Regions from separate parts of the Homo sapiens genome. Here region 2 is linked to region 1. The links are contacts of gene promoters, found by promoter capture Hi-C in blood cells and fetal thymus (Javierre and others, 2016). All regions are on one chromosome and are shown on one strand. Each heading gives the region's core, a stretch centred on a gene start or on the middle of the fragment in contact. The rest is flanking DNA. Distances are from core to core; before and after follow the strand shown. Region 1 holds the start of NBAS (NBAS subunit of NRZ tethering complex). Region 2 overlaps LOC105373436 (a long non-coding RNA gene).

Region 1 (7,957 bases), core at 3,013-5,512:
ATAAAAGCAGTTTGAGATGTTAAATTTAATCTAAGAAGCTTTCATGAAACCATGGACTAGAAGTTATAATAATCACCCCTTAGAAACCAAAATATTTGTATAAAAAATTAAAGCAAGATATATTTTACACTTTATAGCAAAGATTTTTAAAACAGTAATACCTAAAATGGGAAAGCCCACGGAAAACAAAACCTCTAACACGCTATAAAAAACAATGCTTTCTATCATCCTAAATGTACATGTATGTGTGTACCTGTGTATGCAGTTAGGTATATATCAATGGAAAAATATCTAAAGAATAACAGATTCTCTCTAGGTGGTATGAGGACAAATTTTTTTCTAATTTGTAGTTATCTATAGTGTCTGTATTTTCTACAATGAATTTTTATTATTTGTACACATTTTCTAAATTCTCAAAATTTAAAAGCATTTGTCATTATGAAAACTGAATATGCTAGTGCTTCTTGTATCAGAAGATAAAATTAACTATAATTAACTGTAATTTTATCAGAAGATAAAAGGATAATCAGAAGATTACAGTTAATTTCAAGTACTTAACTTCTGTGAAAATGAATTTTCTCTTTATAAGGAACTTAAATTCACTGGTATAAGGATGGACTTTGAAGCCAGAAAGACATGCAGTCAAATTCCAAATGAATGACCTTGAGCAAGTTTTCTTATCTAAAATCATAAAGGAGTAACGGCACCTTTCTGGTCTGATAAAAGGACTCTATTAATGAATATGGTAAACCCGTCATGGCACCAGCTCAGTAAACCTAGTGCTCAATCCTTTCTCAGACTCTTGTTAGTTCATACGTAAAATTTGTCAGGAGTTAAATGAATACCCTGGCTTATCAAATCTGTAATTTGAGTATCTCTGACCAGATCTATCTGAAACACCACATAGACCTCTTAAAATAGTCTCTCAGTGTATTTTCACCTTCAACATCCACTGACTTTCTGAGACTCATACTGGCTTTGACCTTCATTCCTTCTAGAACAGCGTCCCCCAACCTTTTTGGCACCAGGGACTGGTTTTGTGGAAGACAATTTTTCCATGCAACCTAGATCCCTCACACGTGCAGTTCACAATAGGGTTTGCACTTCCCTGATAATCTAATGCTGCCGCTTATCTGACAGGAAGTGGAGCTCAGGTGGTAATGCTCACTCACCCATCGCTCACCTCCTGCTATGCAGCCTGTTTCCTAACAGACCACAGACTGGTACCAGTCCATGGCCCAGGAATTGAGGACACCTGTTCTAGAATACATCCATAATGGTTAAACCAAAGCTATATACTTTAGCTCTAAGCTGCATTAGAGCTAAAAACGTGCATGCGTAAATATACAAATGTATACATATACATACATATGTGTGTATATATAAATATATATATAATTAAACTCAGATAACACACATTACTTTTATTAGGCTCCACATCAGAAGTCTAAAGAACACATTTTAACTGTTAACCATATCATTACTGTAGAGAAATAAGCTATATTTACCTCGAATTGCTTTCGTGATGATAAAGGATGCACCATGTTTTTGGTTGCCTCTAGGCTGGAATTTAAAACAAAAAACACTTACATTTGAATCTTCTAGTAGTATTAGACCAGTATTACTTATACAATATGTAAACTTATTTTTATTTACTAATACTCAGAGTTTTGGGCACAGGGAAGCAGTGTCTTAAAACTACTTAAAGACTGGATGTTCAGGTGCAGTGGCTCACGCCTGTAATCTCAGCACTTTGGGATGCCAAGGTGGGCTGACTGCTTGAGCCCAGGAGCTCCAGACCTGCCTGAGCAACGTGGCAAAACCTCATCTCTACAAAAAATACAAAAATTGGCCAGGCATGGCGGTGCATGCCTATAGTCCCAGCTACTTGGGAAGCTGAGGTGACCCAGGAGGTTGAAGCTACGAAGCTACAGTGAGCCCTGATCATGCCACTGCACTCCAGCCTGGGTGACAGAGTGAGACCCTGCCTCAAAAAAAAAAAAAAAAAAAAAAAAAGTAGACACAGGACGCGGGACAATAGGAGAAAAGTGAGCATAGCAGAGCTACAGGCACATGTCAGGACTAACCTTGCAGGAAAGAACAAGGATTGAAGCTGGAAACTGTTTCCAAATCAAAAACCAATCCAAAGACAAGAGAAGTCAAGGCCAAAGACCATACTGGTTGCCAGTTCAGCATACTCTATTGAGGCTGTAAGTTTTGCTCACAGGAAAAGTGGTCATATCTCCAAGGCCAATTCATTGACTATCTGTTGTGTATCTATACAGACAATGCTACTAACAAAACATACACAGATACGTAATTGCTATATTAAATAATTCCATTCCATAAGTATAGACTGAACACACCGTGGGTAGGTTCATGACGCTAGGCACTGCATAAGATGCACTAAAGTGCTGTCAAGAAAAGCACAATGGACATACAGTAAGTGTAGACAGATTTTTTTAAAAAACACAGAAAAGTTATTTCACTCAATAAACATGAATTGATTGTTGGATTCATGCAAGACACAATTTGGCCCTGGGAAGAGATATAAAGATGAATCAGATGTCTGCCCTCCAAGAGCTTATAATTCAACAGCTGAAATCAACAGAATGCAGAAATCGATAGAATGCAGAAATCAATTGAACTCCCCCACCCCCAACACACAAACACAAAACAAAGTGCTAAGGGTTTCAAAGTAAGTTAATTCTGTGGTTACTTTTTTGGAATCAATTTATGGTAAGCATTCTGAAACATTACTGCAATTAACCAATGAGTGTTAAGGAGTGGAAACTTATCTAACCAGCTGCCTCAGCAACAGCTTCCTAGCTGCATAACCCAAAAAATATTCACATTAAGACAAACTAAGTACTTGAAATTAAACAGTAATATATGCAGATCTCTACCCGTCTACAAAATAAATTATTCATGATAAGCACAAACTGCAGTGGGAAGGAGGCTACAGAGGAAAAAAATACAAACTTTGGGCTGAAAAATGAGTCGTTTCTCCAGCAAAGAAACACTCAGAAAAAATGTAAGATAACTCACATGGGCTGGACTACATAATCTTTAATAAAGGTTCTTTTCGATCTGGCTGCTTCCTCTGGGTCTAAAACAGTAACTGGCACGTGTTAAGCACTCAATAAATATCTGTTAAATAAACATGGATCCAAAAAATAATAATAATAAAAAATAAAATAAAATAAACATGGATCCATGGTTCCTACTCTTCATCACAGACCCGGGAGGCCTTCACTACCAAACAACTGATAATCCCAAGATCCAGTCCATAAATTATCAACCTCTATAACCCTTCTGTAGCGGAGATCCCAATCCCAGTCAGCAGCTCTTTACTCTGCACTTCCGTGGCATTTTGCTCACATCGCTAACTATAGCGCATAAAACGCTAGGTTATGAAAAACGTTTACGGGACTGTCTCCCCTCTAGACGAGAAGCTCCACGAAAACATATTCATCTCTGTATCCTTAGCACCTAGCACAGCACCTGTGACACCGAGACAGACGAACGGACACGCACACCCTTATTAAATGCTCTTTTATTGAAACACACAAGACCTGGCGCGATCCAGCCCCCAGTATGGGTAAAGGCTCAGATTCTGCGCTCTGCACCAGCCTGGCAGATGCTGCAGACTGTAAGGTCCTGGAAAATTCTCCCATCGCAGTTGAGCGTCGGCCCAGACTAGCCCTAGCCAGACCGCGAGAAGGGACCACTGAGGGTCCAGATAGGAGAAAGGACCCTCGAGTCCAGCGCTGTGCCTTCCCCTCCTAATACAGAGAGCGACACTAACAATCCCCTCTCCTCCCAATACAGAGAGCGAAACTGAGAACCAAAGTGGGATCGTACGCTCCCCAGAGCACGAAGTTCCAGCCCCCAACAACCGAATTCTGAGCCCAGGAAGAATCTCAGGGACCACCACCCCACCCCGCCCTAGACCCCCGCTAGCCCAAGGTGCCGTTGCCAAGGCGACCGCACAAGCCAACCGGCCCTAGTCCCCCACCCACCCGTCTCCACTCCCCTACGTGGCTCCTGCTACGTGGCTCTACCCACGAAGCGCCCGCGCCAAGCTGGCTGCTGCTGTAGATGGGCCTGGTTCACCTGTACTTCAGTCTCCGGTGGCCACTCGGTGTTGACCAACAAGTCATAGAGAATCGTCTCCTCCTCACCCTCTGCAGTGCCTGGACTCAAAGCCGGCCCTGACTCGGGGGCCGCCATGTTCGCCGAGGACTCAGGCAGCGGAGGAGTGTCTCTACGGAATCCCTCACAGGACAAGCTTCTCTATCCGCGGCCGCTTTTGTTTCACGGCAAGGAAATGCTAGGTTAACCCTTTTATGAGTAGGAAGGACAGGGACTATTGCTTGTCTTGGGAACGACTTGTGTCCCGGTCCTGATACACTCCTTGTTCATTAATCTACATGAGATCGGCCAAGTCATTGAGCCTCTCTTATAACTCAGTTTCCATAAAACAGAAATGGTAAAGGTACCCCACTGAAATGCTAATGTTCATTTGTATATTCTTTGCCTAACACGTAGAGAGAGTTCAAACAGTGGTTTTAAAATAAACAACTAAAGTTATCCAATGAAAGGTAGCAGAGGAAGGATGCTACAGGAGCTCAGAAAAGGCAACGAAGGCCAGAGTCTGCAGGGATTTCCTGGAGGACGTGGAGCTTGTCCCTGCGTCTTTAACAATAGGCAGAATTTTAATCTACTGGAGAAGCATTTCAAGTAGCGGGAAATGGAATGAGCAGAGACAGAGGCAGAAATACAGAGTTGAAAGAACTCTTTCAACGTGTCGCCAGTGAGTGACGACTTTCTCAGTGTGGGAGTAAAAGAATTTACCAAGACAGTGGTAGATAAAGAAAGACAGATTAAAGAAAGTATGAAAGTTCGTTGCCAGGGAGCAGCGGGCCGACTCAGCAGAGGAGGAGCTCATTGCTAGGAAACAAAGGCTTGTTGAGAATTTTATAGACTGGAACTTGGAGTGATTGATAACACCAGGTAGCAGGGAGTTAACTTGCTTTTTTTTTTTCTTTCTTTCTTTTTTTTTTTTTTTTTTTGTCAGCTGAAGTGTTTCAGAAATTGAGGCATTTGAAGGTAAGCAGGAAGTTTGTGAGTTAAGTACGTTATCTGGGTAGAAGGGCCATATGTCCTGGGCCATAAAGAAAAGTAGACCTATGGCTTATTTGTTTCTTCCTTTTGTTTATATGTTTTGGACCATGAAGAAAGACAGACGTATAGCTAATTTGCCTTATCTCTTTGTTTTTCCCTGCTCCCACTAGCCTGCCTTTTTTTTTTTCCTAATTAGTACTCAACAAGACGGGTGAATAGAACCCAAGTTGAGAAAGGGTGTAGGGGCAATAAAGTTGAAATAATAGGTTGAGAACCCGCATGGAGGGAGCGAAAAGGTCAACCCCATTTGTTCATTCATTCATTCATTCAACAAATACCTCTTTGTGGACAGTTATAAGCAGAGCCTACTGTAACATGAATGAATATATACTGTACAAAGTATTACACTGTTTCACATCAAAAGAAACACAAATACTGAATATCCCTTGAGATAATTATATTCATGATATCCATCAAGATGCATTAGGCGGTGATGCAATTAAAAGCCTCTGCTGGGAAGCCTCTAACCAGCTCCCATTTCTCTCAAAGTTTAATGACCTCAAAGCCCTACGTCATCTGCCTGCTCCCCTAAATCTCACACCTCATTTCCTGCTCCCCCTACTACCTTCAGCCACACTGGCTCTATTTCTGAACACACCAGACACACATCAACTTCAGGAGTTCTGCAAAGCCTGTCCCCTCCACTTGGAAGGCTTTCTACCAGATGTTTACCTGGTTCCTCCCTTATCTCCTTCAAGTTTTTGCTCAAATGTCGTCTCTCTCTGAAGCCTACCTTGACTGCTCATTTTTAAATTTGCAATGACCATTCTCCAACTCCAGCTTTCCAGAGCTGCTCTATTATTTTTTCCATTACACTTGTCATCACTTAAATGGCTATACAGTATATTTGCTTATTATCTGTCTCCATTCACTAAAAGGTAAGCCATGCCAGGTGCTCTATCTATATGCATGCAAATGCTATATCCATCCCTGCTATATCCCCAGAATTTATAACAGTGCCTGGCATAGAGCAGAGGACAAAATATATATTATTTGTTGAATAAATGACAGACTTCCCAGAAAATCTTTTACACATTGTCTCCCCATAGTATTTCTCTGCATAGCAGCTGTGCCCTTCAATCAAACCCCTCATTGTGAACACCAGACGTGTCTTCTCCCTACCGCACAAGGCTGACAAACTGTATACCTCCGGGGAGCCCCGCCCACATTGCATGCGGTAGAACATGAAGAGGCAGGAACACCATGCACATGGAATGCGGTGTGAGGGCTGGTTACTGGAGTCCTCCAGTACCTCAGTACAACCCCACCTATTTCTCCACACCAAGTTTCCTTGGCTCTTTATTCCTCTGTCTCATCCTTTCTCAGATAGATATTGGGGTTGCTTTCTGTTTCATCACTCTCTTCACCACTTTCACTCAATCTGTACAACCACGGCCAGGAGATAGCTGGTCAAACTGGCAAAGGATGCTTCCTTCTTAGCTGGTGTGCAAAGGGGACCACTGCAAATACACCATGAAGAATTTATTTATTTTACCATCATCACACTATTTTTGTTTGTTTGTTTTTGTTTTTGAAACAGGGTCTCACTCTTTCACTGAGGCCAGAGTGCAGTGGCACAAAGAGAGCTAACTGAAATCTCTACTTCCTGGGCTCAAGCAATCCTCCCACCTCAGCCTCCTGAGTTGCTGGGACCACAGGTGCATGCCACCATGCTGGGCTAACTTTATTATTTTTTGTAGAGATGGGGGGTCTTGGACTTCTGGGCTCAAGTGATCTGCCTCGGCCTCCCACAGTGCAGGGATTACAGGCACGCACCACCATGCCCAGCCTCACACCATGTTAATTGTTTTATCCATCCTCATCCATACCCCACTTACCATAGCATGTACAAAAGGACAGAAAACATAAACTCATGCCTGGCAGAGAGCTTCTACTCTGAAGAAACAACAACCGAAGTGTCACAGGATGAATCTATGCTATTTGGAGAGGGAGTATACATTTAACTTGAAGCAATCCCTGGAAGAAAAATTCTACTAGCAGAGATGCTCTGAGCAGGTAAGTGGGTTCTTAAACCTTCAGCACCACTAGTTAAAATCCAGAAGAGTTCCTGGAAGGGGAGAAATGTGAGGTGACCAATAAAAGGGAAGAAGATGGTAAGAATATGTATGCCACAAGAAGAACTCCAAATGTTGAATATCAGACACGGGTTGGAAAAGAAAAGACAAAGATCTGATCAAGTTCAACTGAATCAAAGGAATAGGATGACTTAAAACAGATTGAGTGGCTGAAGCCAAATTGCTACTTGGTCTTATTTACAGTGACTATATAGCAAAGTATCCAAACTGGGATATTTTTGAAAAGAAAAAGCCATGATTTTAATAGTTATGCTAGGACAACAAGCATGAAACAGGGCTGTCATGGGCAAACTGAGATGATTGTCACACTAATCCTAAACAGCAGAGTGGGTAATTTAATGAAGAGGTGGTGAGCGTTTCACAAGGATAGCAAGACTCTTCTGTTCGTCATTATTCTCTTCTTTCTTCCCTCGTGCTTGTAGTGACACTGGTCATTTTTGTCTGCCCAGGCCCTTTGCTTCCTTCGGAGACTGTTCTAGCTGCTCTTCATTCACTCAGTCAGATAATTCCTAGTGGGGCCGCCAATCCCCAAACTCTGCCCCCTTGACCCAAAGAACTCCATTCCTGCTACTTTGAGCATCAGGTTGAGAATCCTTCCCTGGGATTTTTTTTTTTTTTTAAGTGGAAATGGAGGAAAAGGCTCCTTGCCTTTTTGGGTCACAGAGTTTGAAGAA
Region 2 (7,957 bases), core at 1,501-4,000, 2.5 Mb before region 1:
AAAGGTTCCTACTGCAAGAGCTATCTCCAGCCAGGCAAACGGGATACAGGCGAAAAAGGATAAATAAACACCCCCAGCACTAACAGTGAGTCTGTTCTTCAAGAAGCGTTCATTATGTTAGAGCTGAGAGTAGAAAAACAGGGTTCACAGTTTTCCAAGTTCACAGGCTGCTGACTTGTTCGTCTTTGTTTTAGTCGGCGATCATAAGAATTCTATCAAATTCTACCCAGTGTAAACAGGAATCAAAATATGCCTAATATTGAAAGCATTTTTTAAAAAAATAAATTATTTAGGCCGGGTATGGTGGCTCATGCCTGTAATTCCGGCACTTTGGGAGGCCAAGATGGGCGGATCACTTGAGGTTGGGAGTTCGAGACCAGACTGACCAACATGGAGAAACCCCATCTCTACTAAAAACACGTAATTAGCCAGGCGTGGTGGCACATGCCTGTAATCCCAGCTACCCGGGGAGGTAGAGGCAGGAGAATCACTTGAACTCGGGAGGCAGAGGTTTCAGTGAGCCAAGATTGCACCATTGCACTCCAGCCAGGGCAACAGAGCAAGACTCCATCTCAAAAAATATATAAATAATAATAATAATGAAATAAAATAAAAAATAAATTATTTAAACTCAACCTAAGTAAACCAATTCTATAACATTTTCTGAACTATTAACTGTGCTGGCTTTGGAATGCGGAGGTCACAGAGCGTAGCAAAACCGCAGCTCCAGATTTCAGAGCATTTCCAAGTTATCCTTCTCTTTGGAGTGAGGACAATGATAATCGGGAAATGTTGAAGAAATAAGAAGAAGACAAGAAAACCACTGAATTCTCAAAGGGCTAACACAGAATTCTGAAAGGGCTAAAAAGTTTCATTTAAGAAGTAGCATTTGTATTAAATGTTACCAAAACATGTCTTATGTATTTTTGCTTAATGGATATTTGACGTCTATGCATTATGCAAATGTGGTCATGTGTGAACAGGAAGGAAATTTTCTTATTTGTGTCACAAGGAAATTCAGCCAATATTCACTTTAGTTATTTCAGAGCAACACTTGCAATCCTTCTAAATATGAAACACCAAATAATGTATGTATTTATTCCCATACTCTGAGGGAGACTGAATATGAATAATTGGGTCTCACATTGGAATAATTGAATTCTAAATTAAAAGAACTTTACAGTAATAAATGAGTCTAATAAAATAGTTATTTTGAACCATCTATTTTTAAAGAATGCTTGGGGTATTGCTGATATGTGTAACAGGAAGAACTTTTGAAATTTTGCCCAAGGCATAGGATTGTAATGATTTTTCAAGGACCTCAATATCCATAAACATTAATGATCCTATAGAACAGCCTGGACTCCTTAGTCCAGTCAAAAGATAATAGACTTTGTCTTCATAAGTATGAGTTTAAATGCATACACCTTCACTTACTAGCCTACTACTTTGGGCAATGTATTAACCTCTATGAGTCTCGTTCTTAAATTGTAAAAGGCACATAATATACATTGAAGGATTAATATGAAGACTATAAATAATATGTTACCACCATGTTCCTGACCCTGCCAGTGTGTATCAATATCACATTTTCTTTAATACTCTAATGATACTAGTTCTATCTTGCCAAATTAACAGAAACTCTAGTCTCTTTCCCAAAGCGCAATGCCCTCAATATTTCTGAGAATCCCTAAGTTTGCCTATACTTGTCCATACGTCAGACATTCTTATTGTTTCTTTGTTGCCACTTGTCAAAAATGCAGACTCTGATAAAGTCTTGCAATAGGACCCAGTTGCCAGATCGTCTTTTACCAGAAAAATTCATTATTTAGTCTCAGGTCAAATCCAGCTGCTAGTTCACCAGATTTTGTGGGATGCCAGTGCCTCTGATCCTAGTGGTGAAGCTCTAGCAGCCTGCAATGATCTGGCTGTTACTATGCTATTCACTTCCACTGGTGCCTCTTACAAATCTGATTATTTACTCAGGTTCTATCAGTTCTCAAGCTATAAGAATTCTATCACGACTAAACTGCCGAGGCCCTAAGTGGATTTTTAAAAATTTGATGTGTTCCCTCAATTACTAATATACTTTGCATCTATAGATTTGCCTATTCTGGATGTTTCCTATTAGCAGAATCCTACAATACATGGTTCTCTGTAACCAGTTTCCTTACTTCGGAATTTGGATAAACGTTTAAATGTTTCATCTAAGAAACCACTGCTTAATCCAAGGTCACAAATATCCCAATGTTTTCTTCTGAGAGTTTATAGTTTTATCTCTTCTATTAAATTCTTTAATGCATTTTAAGTTAGTTTTTACATGTTGTATGAAGTAGGTATCAACTTCATTCTTTTGTATGTGGATACCCAGTTATCCCAGCACCATGTGCTGGAAATACTACTTTCTCCTTGTTTCCCTGTGGAATATGCTGTCAAAAATCCATTGATTGTAAATGGGAAGGGTGAATTATGGACCCTCAGTGCTTTGCCGTTGATCTGCATATTGATCCTGATGCCACTGCTACACTGTCTTTATTATTGTAGCTTTTTGGTACGTTTTGAAATAGCAAAGTGGAATCCTCCTACTTTGTCCTTCTGTTTCAACATTGTTTTGGCTACTCTTGGTCACTTGAATTTATATATGAATTTTAGAATAAGCTTGTCAATTTCTGCAAAAGTTCAGCTAAGATTTTGATAGGAATTACATTGAGCATATAGATGAATTTGAGGAGTATTGCTGTCTTAAAATTATTAAGTCATCTCATCCATGAATATAGGATATATTTCCGTTTATTTAGTTTTCCTTTAATGACTTCAAACAATATTTTTAGTTTTCAGAGTATAAGCTTTGCACTTCCTTTGTTAAACTTATTCTCTTGGATGCTATTTTAAAGAAATTGTTGGAGCAGCCAAGACGGCCGAATAGAAATGGCTTTGCTCTGCAGCTCCCACCAAAAAGGATAAAAACAGTGAGTGAATTCTGCATCTTCAGTTGAGGTACCAAGGATCGCTCATGAGAACCAAGTGGTTATGGCGACCCACGGAGAGCGAGGAAAAGGAGGGTGGAGCAAGGGCTCACCTGGGAGCTGCACGAGGCAAAGGGAGCTCCTTCTTCCAGCCAAGGGAGGCGGTGAGGGATTTTGCTCCTTCTCCCTGAAAACCCCACTTTTCCCACAGATCTGGCTGGAGGAGATCCCTCCTGATTTGCAACCTGCAAATCAGGCGGTCCCCTTGTGAGCCCACACCAACCAGGATTCTTGGCTCCCAAGCATAGAGCAGTGCAGACTCTTGGCGGCTGCTCAGGTAGGCGGCGGCTGGAGCAGGCACTGAGACCCCGAGTTTCCCAGGGGGCAGGGACAGCCACCATCACTGCGCCTCTAGTCGGCTGTTTTCCCCTGCCGCCAGCGCCAGCGCGGTTTGTACTGGGAGCAATTCCCCACAGTGCAGCACAGCGGCTGGGGCAGTTCGTGGCTGGACTGTTTCCTTAAGCAGGACCCTGATCCACTCCCCCTCACTGGGTGGGACCTCCCTGCAGGAAATTCAGCATCCCCAGGCAGGCATTTATGAACAAAACTCTGATATCCCTGAGAGGAGCCCCTAGGAGGAGGTGCAGCTGCAGTATCATGAATCTTAGTCTTATCTGCCTGCTTACTGGCTCTGGAGAGTCAGGGCAGCCCAGGCAATGGCGCAGCACACCTGCTCCAACTAGGGGCAGTCAGATTGCTTATTTAAGCAGGTCCCTGATCCCTGTCCTCCTGACTGGGTGAGACCTCCCAACAGGAGTCTCCAGACACCTCATACAGGAGCGTTCCAGCTGGCATCAAGTCTGTGCCCCTCCGGGACAGAGCTCCCAGAAGAAGGAGCAGGCTGCCATCTTTGCTGTTCTGCAGCCTCTATTAGTTATATTTTCAGGAGCAGGAGGGACGCAGGAAAACAGGGTCTGGAGTGGACCCTCAGCAAACTGCAGCAGCCCTATGGAAAAGGGCATTGACCGCTAAAAGAAAAACAAAGAGAAAGCAACAACAACAACAACAACATCAATGAAAAAGACCCCACAAAAACTCCATCCAAAGGTCAGCAGCCTCAAAGATCAAAGGTAGATGAACCCAAGAAGATGAGAAAGAATCAGTGTAAAAGTGCTGAAAACTCTAAAAGGCAGAGTGCCTATTCTCCAAATGATCACAACACATCTCCCTCAATGGCACAGAACTGGGCTGAGGTTGAGATGGTTGAACTGACAAAAGTAGGCTTCATAAGATGGGTAATAATGTACTTCACTTAGCTAAAGGAGTACGTTCTAACTTATTGCAAAGAAGCTAAGAACCATGATAAAACATCAGAGGAGTTGTTAACCAGAATAACCAGTTGAGAGAGGAACATAGATAACCTGAAGGAGCTGAAAAACACAACGTGAGAACTTCACAATGCAAACACAAATATCAATAGCCGAATAGACCAAACTGAAGAAGGGATATCAGAGCTTGAAGACTATCTTGCTGAAATAAGGTAGGCAGACAAGATTAGAGAAAAAATAATGATAAGGAATGCATAAAACCTCCAAGAACTATGGCATTGCATTAAAAGACTGAACTTACAGCTGATAGGGGTACCTGAAAGAGACAGGGAGAATAGGACCAAGTTGGAAAACACACTTCAGGACATTATCCAGGAAAACTTCCTCAACCTGGTAAGATAGGGCAACATTCAAATTCAGGAAATTCAGAGAACCCCAGTAAGATACTCCATGAGACGATCAACCCCAAAACACATAATCATCAGATTCTTCAAGATCAAAATGAAGGAAAAAATGTTAAGGGCATCCAGAGACAAAGACCGGGTCACATATAAATGGAAGTCCATCAGACTAACAGCAAACCTCTCAGTGGAAATCCTACAAGCCAGAAGAGATTGGGGTCCAATATTCAACATTCTTTAAAAAAGAATTTCCAACTTAGAATTTTATATCCAGCCAAACTAAGCTTCATAAGCAAAGGAGAAAATAATCTTTTTTTTTTTTTTTTTTTTTTTTCTGAGATGGAGTTTCTCTCTTGTTGACCAGGCTGGAGTGCAATGGCATGATCTCGGCTCACTGCAACCTCTGCCTCCCAGGTTCAAGTGATTCTCCTGCCTCAGCCTCCCAAGTAGCTGGGATTACAGGTGCTCACCACTATGCTCAGCTAATTTTTGTATTTCTAGTAGAGACAAGGTTTCACCATGTTGGCCAGGTTGGTCTCGAACTCCTGACCTCAGGTGACACCCACCTCGGCCTTCCAAAGTGCTGGGATTACAGGCATGAGCCACTGTGCTGAGCCCGAAATAAAATCTTTTTTAGACAAGCAAATGGTGAGGGAATTCATCACCCCTAGGCCTGCCTTGCAAGATCTCCTGAAGGAAGCACTACATATGAAAAGGAAAAACCATTACCAGCCACTACAAAAATACACTGAAGTACACAGGCCAATGACACTATGAGGCAACTACATAAACAAGTCTGCAAAATAATCAGCTAACATCATAATGACAAGATCAAATTCACATATAAACAGTATTACCCTCAAATGTAAATTATCTAAATGCCCCAATTAAAAGACACAGAATAGCAAGCTTGATTAAGAGTCAAGATCCATCAGTAGCCTTTATTCAAGAGACCCATTTCACATGCAAAGACCACACATAGACTCAAAATAAAAGGATGGAGGAAAATTTACCAAGGAAATGGAAAACAGAAAAGGCAGGGTTTGCAATCCCAGTTTCCAACAAAACAGACTTTAAGCCAACTACGATAAAAAAAAAAAAAAGACAAAGAAAAGCATTACATAATGGTAAACTGGTCAATTCAACAAGAAGAACTAACTATCCTAAATATGTATACACCCAATACAGGAGCACTGAGATTCATAAAACAAATTGTTAGATGTACAAAAAGACTTAGACTCCCACACAATAATAGTGGGAGACTTTAACAATCCAATGTCATTATTAGATAGATCAGCGAGACAGAAAATTAAAGATATTCAGGATTTGAACACACCTTTGGATCAAGCAGACATGATAGATATCTACAGAACTCTCCACCCCAAAACAACAGAATATACATTCTTCTCAGGACCACATGGCACTTGCTCTAAAATCAATTATATATTTGGAAGTAAATCACTCATCAGCAAATGCAAAAGAACTGAAAACATAACAGTCTCTCAAGCCACAGTGCAATTAAATTAGAACTCAAAATTAAGAAACTTACTCAAAACCACAAAACTATATGAAAATTGAACAACCCGTTCCTGAATGATTCCTGGGTAAATAATGAAATTAAGGCAGAAATCAAGGAGTTCTTTGAAACCAATGAGAACAAAGAGCAATGCACCAAAATCTCTGGGACACAGCTAAGCAGTGTTAAGAGGAAAATTTATAGCACTAAATGCTCACATCAAAAAGCTAGAAATATCTCAAACTGATGCCCTAACATCACAACTAAAAGAACTAGAGAACCAAGATCAATCAAACACCAAAGCTAGCAGAAGACATGAGAAAACCAAGCTCAGAGAAGAACTGAAAGAAATAGAGACACAAAAACTCCTTCAAAAAACAATAAATTCAGGAGCTGGTTTGTTGAAAAAATTAATAAAATAAATAGACCACTAGCTAGACTAATAAAGAATAAAAGAGAGCAGAATCAAATAGACACAATGAAAAATGATAAAAGAAATATTACCGCTGACCCCACAGAAATACAAACAACCATCAGAGAATACTATAAACATCTCTATGCAAGTAAACTAGAAAATCTAGAAGTGGATAAATTCCCAGACACATACACCCTCCCATGACTTATCCGGGAAGAAGTGGAATCCCTGAATAGACCAATAAAAAGTTTTGAGATTGAGGCAGTCATAAATAGCCTACCAACCAAAAAAAAAAAAAAAAAAAAAAAAAGCCGAGGACCAGATAGATTTACAGCTGAATTCTATCAGAAGTACAAAGAGGAGCTGATACTCTTTCTTCTGAAAATATTCCAATCAATTGAAAAGGAGGGACTCCTCCCTAACACATTCTATGAGGCCAGCATCATCCTGATACCAAAACCTGGTGGAGATACAACAGAAAAAACAAACAAACAAACAAACAAAACTTTAGGCCAATATTCCTGATAAACATCAATGCAAAAAATTCTCAATAAAATATTGGGAAACCAAATACAGCAGCACATCAAAAAACTTATTCACACAGTCAAGTTGGCTTTATTCCTAGGATGCAAAGCTGGTTCAATCTATGCAAATCAATAAATGCATCACATAAACAGATCTGAAGACAAAACCTCTTGATTATCTCAATAGATGCAGAAGAGGCGTTCAATAAAATTCAGCATCACTTCATGTTAAAAACTCTCAATAAACTAGATATTGAAGGAACATACCTCAAAATAATAAGAGCCATTAATGGCAAACCCACAGCCAATATCATACTGAACGGACAAAAACTGGAAGCATTCCCCTTGAAAACTAGCACAAGACAAGGATGTCCTCTCTCACCATTCCTATTCAACACAGTGTTGGAAGTTCTGGCCAGGGAAATCAGGCAAGAGAAAGAAATAAAGGGTATTTCAATAGGAAAAGATGAAGTCAAATTATCTTCATTTGCAGATGACAAGATCTGTATCTAGAAAACCCCATAATCTCAGCTCCAAACCTTCTTAAGCTGATAAGCAACTTCAGCAAAGTCTCAGGATACAAAATCAATGTGCAAAAGTCACAAGAATTCCTATACACCAACCACAGGCCAGCAGAAAGCCAAATCATGAATGAACTCCCATTTATAATTGCTACAAAGAGAATAAAATACCTAGGAATACAGCTAATAAGTGAAGCGAAGGGCTTTTCAAGAACTACAAACCACTGCTCAAGGAAATCAGAGAGGATGAAAACAAATGGAAAATATTCCATGCTCACGGATAGAA

Evidence for each region. The method cuts DNA at HindIII sites, captures the fragments that hold promoters and counts their contacts. A CHiCAGO score of 5 or more calls a contact.
Region 2: a fragment that was not itself captured here is called in contact with the fragment with the promoter of NBAS in region 1 in 2 of 17 cell types (endothelial precursors and M2 macrophages); the score reaches 8.0 in endothelial precursors.

The regions. Positions count from the first base shown.
Region 1 is chr2:15,557,072-15,565,028 of GRCh38, forward strand. It overlaps NBAS (NBAS subunit of NRZ tethering complex), which reads right to left and starts at 4,263. Exons shown (of 52, transcript NM_015909.4): 1 at 4,117-4,263; 2 at 1,509-1,563. The coding sequence starts at 4,233. It overlaps LOC105373440 (a long non-coding RNA gene), which reads left to right and starts at 5,077. Exons shown (of 4, transcript XR_001739297.2): 1 at 5,077-5,112; 2 at 7,031-7,203. RefSeq lists an enhancer at 4,053-4,462. The HindIII fragment of the contact is 4,253 bases long and covers 37-4,289 here.
Region 2 is chr2:13,036,889-13,044,845 of GRCh38, forward strand. All of the region lies in intron 1 of LOC105373436 (a long non-coding RNA gene), which reads left to right. Among named protein-coding and RNA genes, the nearest start is that of MIR3125, 300 kb to the left of the region's middle. The HindIII fragment of the contact is 188 bases long and covers 2,657-2,844 here.